2 separate regions of the Homo sapiens genome follow, and region 1 is linked to region 2. The links are contacts of gene promoters, found by promoter capture Hi-C in blood cells and fetal thymus (Javierre and others, 2016). All regions are on one chromosome and are shown on one strand. Each heading gives the region's core, a stretch centred on a gene start or on the middle of the fragment in contact. The rest is flanking DNA. Distances are from core to core; before and after follow the strand shown.

Evidence for each region. The method cuts DNA at HindIII sites, captures the fragments that hold promoters and counts their contacts. A CHiCAGO score of 5 or more calls a contact.
Region 1: a contact is called between a fragment that was not itself captured here and the fragment with the promoter of CD2AP in region 2, in 1 of 17 cell types (non-activated CD4 T cells). The highest score is 6.9, in non-activated CD4 T cells.

What each region holds. Positions count from the first base shown.
Region 1 is chr6:39,111,465-39,114,549 of GRCh38, forward strand. All of the region lies in intron 1 of SAYSD1 (SAYSVFN motif domain containing 1), which reads right to left. It also overlaps the pseudogene ANKRD18EP. Among named protein-coding and RNA genes, the nearest start is that of SAYSD1, 2.2 kb to the right of the region's middle. The HindIII fragment of the contact is 3,021 bases long and covers 1-2,888 here.
Region 2 is chr6:47,476,097-47,479,622 of GRCh38, forward strand. It overlaps CD2AP (CD2 associated protein), which reads left to right and starts at 1,693. Exons shown (of 18, transcript NM_012120.3): 1 at 1,693-2,152. The coding sequence starts at 2,149. CD2AP-DT (CD2AP divergent transcript) reads right to left here and starts at 1,976. Exons shown (of 1, transcript NR_187257.1): 1 at 1,147-1,976. RefSeq lists a silencer at 1,455-1,964 and an enhancer at 2,251-2,977. The HindIII fragment of the contact is 1,754 bases long and covers 924-2,677 here.

The DNA of each region.
Region 1 (3,085 bases), core at 128-2,627, 8.4 Mb before region 2:
GAAAGAGTGGAAAAACTTACCATCAGCGATTTCCTAGGAAGGAGAACAAAGAGTATGCTAGGCCTGCAAAGAAAATGTCAAATGAAAAGAAAAAGGTCAAAAAGCAAACTCATTTAGAGATGAACCTGATGACTTAACTCGGCCCTCTGAAACAGCTTCAGAGGATCATGAGAAACCTTACCCTCATTGTAAGAAGTTTATGATGCTCATTAAGCAATATGGAATGGATTGTAATGATTCTCGTATCCTAATGGAAGTCCAGAATGCATTTCTTTCATGTGAAAAGTCACTGGACCTTAAAAAAAATTATCTGTGAACAACTTACACTAGACAATAAGAAATATGAAAACTGAGTTTAGTGTACTGAAGGAGCTATCCAAAACACAAGAAACGAAGTCACAGTTCAATATCAAAAAGTAGAATGGAAACAGGAACTCTACAGTTTGCAGCTTAGAAGAAGATGAGAAGAAATGCTAATATGTTATATGAAAAAATTAGGGAAGAGTTAGAAAGGAAAGTGGAGCAACATAGGAAAGAAGTTGAAGTAAAAGAACAGCTTAAACTGACTATCGGATCACTAGAAATAGAATTGAAGGCTTGAAGAAATACTTTAAGAAAAAAAAAGATCTGATGCATGAAAATTGCTTGTTGAAGAGAGATATTGCCTTTATTGTGTATGTAAGTATACACAATAAAAAATAGGAACCTCGAAAGGGAAAAAGGACATTGAAATTGTTAAAGAAATGAATGATGACCTTCAAGAGACTATAAAACTGAATGGAAAAACATTAACAAAAACAGTATCCCAGTATGGTCAACAGCTTAACGACCTCAAAACTGAGAATACAATGCTCAAGTCTAAACTGGAGAAGGAAAATCAAAACAAGGAAAGACTGGAAGCTGAAGTTGAGTCATTCCATGCTAGACTGGCTGCTGCTATAAGTGAGTGTGATCAAAGTGTGAAAACAAAAAGAGACCTAGAACTTGCTTTACAGAGAGCACAAGACGTTTCTTTACAAGAAAGAAAATGAGTTCTGATATTTCTGAACTAAAAGATAATAATGAGTTTTTAACTGAGCAACTTTCCGAAGCTCGAATTCAATACCCTAAAAAGTAAACTCCATGACACAAGAAATTCTCTCAGAGAAAAGGTTTTGGTTTTATAAAGTGTACAAAAGGACCTAAGCCAAGTAAATCCTTTGGAAAGTGGGACTACGTAGAGGAGAGAATATCTCAACTACAACATGAAAATCTGTTGCTTCAACAACTAGATGGTGCTCATAAGAAAGGGGATAATGAACAAAAGGTAATTAATATCCAAGGATGCTGTCTTGAGAGTGAAAAGGAAGGTCTTCTGCTAGAAGGGAAAAATAAGGAATTAATCAATGAATGCAATCATTTAAAAGACTGTTTCAGTATGAAAAAGAGAAAGCAGAAGGAGAAGTAAGTATCAAAAAAGATAAATATTTTCAAACTTCCAGAAGGAAAATTTAAAATATTTGGCTACGGCTACATGTTGAACCTAGTTGAATATAAAAATTAATAGACAAAAAATGTGTTTACCATACTGTATAATTCCATTTACATGAAACATCCGGAAAAGACAAATGTATAGATAGAAAGCAGACTGACATTTGTGCGGGGCTGGGGTTGGAAATGGGTAGTAACTGCTAATGTGCAAGAGGGGTCTTCTTGGAGTGATAGAGACGTTCTAAAGTTGCAGTGATGGTTGCATGACTCAATAAATTTACTAAAAATCTTTGAACTGTATGTTAAAAGAGATAAATTCTGTAGTATGTAAACCTTATTTCAATAAAGCTGTTTCAATTAAAAAAACAAAAATTAAAAATAATTTAAAAAAATAGAATGCTAAAGAAATCTCTGACAGGCCACAGTGTGCCATCAAAATTGTCTGACATGAATTGTAAATTAGACTTTTTCTTTTCTAAACTAGAGGCAGAATCTGAAGAAAAAAAATTAAATGAGAATTTTCACACCAGAGCAAACCCAGAAATGATAAGTCAATGAAAATGAGCTTAAGGCAGAGTCCCTTATGGAAAAACAGAGCAATTAACAAGAAACTGGAGGTCCAGCATTTCCTCTCATCCTTTTGTCTGGCAATCAGCGTTTGGGTTCTCAATAATGGAAGTTTTTCTCTGAATTCAGTTTCTCTGGGTCCACCTCAATGATCTCATTCCTTTGGAAATGAGACATACAGTCAAAAGTTCATTGCATGGGTTAGACATTGTTTTTTAACTGCAGAGAGAAAAAGAATAAGGGAAATGGTTTCTAAAATCTTAAGCAAGTGTTGTACTTAGAAAGTTCTAGTCAACAATAAAATTATCCAAAGACAATTAACACAAACTGCACACAAGGAAATGGATTGTCTGAACTCTGCTGCGCTCTTTTCACCTTTCTGCAAGTCAGCTGGAATCCTGTATATCACTGAGAATATCAAATCAAAATTGAGTAATAGGTTCAGTAATTTTTAAAAATTCCCTCAAATCAAATGTTGTGCAATAATAGATGAACTTACAGGAAATAATTTTAAGGTGAGCAAGGTACACTTTTCTTCCAGTATATTTTCATTTTAAAAGGAATTTTTTAGTTCTTATTGCACTTATGAGGAACAAAGCACTGGGCACAAATTGTTACAAAGCACTCATCCCTTGATATGTTTTGTCTTGTATTTCCACATAGACATTTCAACCTCACTGCAAGCCACCTTACCATTTTACTGAGTTAAAACTAAATGAAAACACAAAAGGATGCAAATTAAATTCATCTGCAAAACAAGAGATTACCAAAACAATTAAATGTGAAAAGGTTATCATACTAAATCACTTTTTTTTGTTTGTGTCTTGAACATTCACTATGGAACTGGAATAAGCTTCTGCCACTACCGGCAGTTACAGCTACCACACTTTGGTAAATTCTGTATTCAAACGCATTTCTAAGTCACAGGCTATCTGGGCTACTAGCTGCATGTGCCCCAGGTGCGAATCAAATGAAGTTTTAATTACTGCTACTTGTGATCGGTATCCAATTAGACCTTTTACCCTCCTCCATTAGCAGAGGGCTGTGG
Region 2 (3,526 bases), core at 443-2,942:
TTTGTCTCCTTTCATGAATCCTTCTTAGCCCATCACCAGCCTCATTCTTCCAAATCGTAAATGGCCTTCCTTATGGGCTGCTTGAGCCACACACATTTCTTAAAGGCTCAGAAATACTCTGTTTGCATATCCACTTCCATTCCTCAGTTCTAGGACTCCTCCAGACTGAATTATTGCCTTCCCCAAGCTTTCGTTCAACTCATACCTTCTCTTTACAGCTTGCTTTGCCCACAGTAATTTATTTTCCTTTAAATTCTCAAGCATTTGACCCTCACTACCTCATACTGTTAATTAACTTTGTGTTCGTATCTCACCCCCCTAGAAGAATGCAAAATCTCTGAGGATTAGCGCTGTACTTTAGCTTTTTATTTTTTTGCTTGGTAGGGGACAACGAACATAATGCTGAACACATATTTGTTACCTAAAAAAGGCACATGTTCCATGATGTCAATGTAATCTTGTTTAGGTGAGTATATTCAACTTTTTTCTTTTATCCTTTTTGGCTGCTGTTTGTGAGTTTGATCATTCTTGTTATAAAATTACCACATGTAACCTTTTGAGAAGCATTAGAAGAATTAAAAGATGGCAAAAGCAGGCCTATAGGAAATAGTGGTAATGGATACGTCCAAGGTTACTACTATGGGCCACTGTGCTCTGCATTGCAAGATTTGTTTGAACATACTCAAGAAATTGAAGTTCAGACAGGTTAATTTATCCAAGGTCCCACAAAAAGTAAATGGCTGTGCTGAGTTTCAAGGACCCATGTCTGCCTGGATCCAAAGGGCAAGTCAGTTTCAGTGCTGGATGACTGAGAATTACAAAATTTCTTGAAAAAGCACTAGGCACAATAGTTGGCGTTCAACAAACGCTCACACACACATCTGCCCTGGAATTGGGTCTACTTAAACAGAAGGGGGAAAAAAAGCTTGCTGAAATAATTATACTTCTTCGTAACTACCAAGCTCATGTTTGACTGACTATAGTAATCCTATGCCCTCCTTCACATTGACGCTAGAAAAAATGCCTGGCAGTATTTCAAATCATGATGCCTATTTTTCTCTCGATCAAGTAACAACTCAAATTATACTTTAAAAAGAAAAAAAGCAAATTATAAAGTTGCATTCAGCTGACAAGAGACTAAAGGAATCTGTGAAACAGAATTTATTTGATGCCTAGGTTTCTCCCTCACCCGACGAAGACCAAATGCTGCTGATCCGTAAGTAACTTCGCAAGGTAAACTGAGGGGCCTGGCAGCATCTGGGCCTCCCTTAAAGGTCGAAATCAAGTGCGCTCGCCCTCCTTCTGTCCGCCTTTTCCCTTTAAGGTCCTCGAGGCTGCTTCGCTGCAGAAAGTAACTCCGCGTCGCCGCCGCGGAAAGTGGGGCAACTTTGCCTATCAGCAGAAACCTTTTGATCCATCTGAGGCGACAAACCAGACCAAACGCCCGCCCAAGCTGTTCCGAGCCTCCGGGGGGAGAGCGAGCCCAAGCTCCTCTGCACCGCTTCCTCATCCGCTCGCTGCACCTGGACGCGGTCGGCGCGCGACCCCCGGCCGTGACGTCACCGCACCTGGCAGCAGCCGTGGGGACCGGGAGAGAGCCCGAACGCGACGGGGCGGGGTGGGGCGGGGAGAACGAGGGCGTTCTCGCGAGATTTGCCTCCTCCCGGTCCCAGCTCCCCGCACCTTCTCGGCCTCTGTCTGGGTCCCCACCTTAGTCTACGGTGTCGCCTTTTCTAACTGCGAGTGCTAAGGAAGAGGCGAGGGGCGGGCTCCGAGGCTAGGCGGGCGCTCGGGGTTGGAGCCGAGGGTCTGGGCAAACCGGTGGGTCCCTCCCCACTGCGGGAGCGGCCAGGGTGGGAAAACCGCGGTCGGGCGGGCGGGGTAGGGCCCTCCCGCCGCCGTGGCTCCTGGGGAGGCCAGGGGTGAGGAGCTGTCGCCGCCTTTGCCTCTGCCTCGAGGGCCGCGCTGAAGAGACTGGTAGGAGAGCGCCGCGGGCGGATGGAGGCGACTCTTCGCCCCGCCTGAGCTCAGGAGGGGCTAGCGCGGAGCGCGGGTCCCGCCTCCAGCCGCGGGAGCGGCCGCGCGAGCCACCACTGGAGGAGGAGGAGGAGGAGCGGACGTCGGCTTCTCCCCGCGGGAGCCCCCAGCATGGGTAAGAGACTCGGGCGCTTCCCGCCGCCCGTCCGGACCTTCCAGACCCGGGGAGGCTGTGCCCTTTCTCGGCCTTCTGGGGAGGCGACTGCGGTCAGCCCCTGAGCGGCAGCACCCCACCCTCTCCATTCTCCCCACCGCCCCTTCTTGCCCTGCCTTCCACCTTGCTCTTCTCACGGAGAAACTGGTGGGAGAGCTCGCGGGTGCTTTCCCTCGCTCTCCCTTCTCCGCCTCTTTTCCTGTTCACCAGAAAGGTGCGGGATGGGGGGCGGGGGCGCCTGGCCACCTCTGCTAACCCCTTGCCCAGCTAAAATCAGACCTGACCTTCCTTCCCTTCCTCATCCCCTTGCTTCCCTCCCCCTCCTCGTGGGATGGGGGAGGGCGATCGAAAAACTTGATAAAGTAGCACTTTCAACTTCTTTATTTTCTGCGAGGCTTTGAATACGTTTAAGGAGAGAGATAAATTTGTTCAAAAACTTTTTTTTTTTCCTGCTGAAACTCGCAAGGGGTGCCTCAAGGACAGGAAAGCTTGAGTATTTGTTTTACTCGGGTTCTACCTAGGCAAGTGTGTTGGCACCTAAGCATTCAGTGTGCTCCCGAGGACTGGGTTTGGACTTCAGTGTTGGATCCTTTGAGGAGCAGTTTCCTGTTTGGAGTTAGACTTCCTTGCCGGAGGAGAGAAAAATACAAGGCCTTATATGTTATTTACTATGTGCTTTATAGTTTTGTTTGAAGTTAGAGAAGGCAGAATGTGTGGCAGTCCGGGTTGAAAAGGAGTTTTGTTAAGTGGTGTAACAATTTCTTTTGATAACAAAGTTCGGTGTGGGCTAGGCATTAAACTAACTCCCTCAATCCTTTAAAAATTAAAAGCAACTTAAGAATAGCTTACAAAAAACAAAACACCCTGTGTCTCTATAAGGCAGAACGTGTTCTGTAAGAGTAAACCCAAGTTTGATTTTTGTAGAGCAAATCAGGAGGACCCTATCACTTTTTGCAGTTGAGAGTTGGTACTGCTTCATATCAACAAACGATCACCGAAATGAATAATTCATGTAATTAACAAATGATTTAGAAGCAGGACGAATACAGACTACTGCTGATGTGGCACCCTCTGTCCACACTTTGCTTTGTGGGGGATGTTTTGAGCATATTGTTTATAGACACTCGCCTAGCTATCCTCTGTTTTCTTAGACTTTTCTAATTTTATGTTCCCTTCTCCACCTCCCTCCTTTCAGGTAACTTTCATACTCAAAAGTGCTCTTGAGCTCAAAAACAGTGAAATAAAACATTTGCTATTTGGAATTTTCAAATGAATTATTTTATAATTGATTAGTTGAGCTTGCAGGGCAATTGTGGGCATATTCTTTTAAGTATG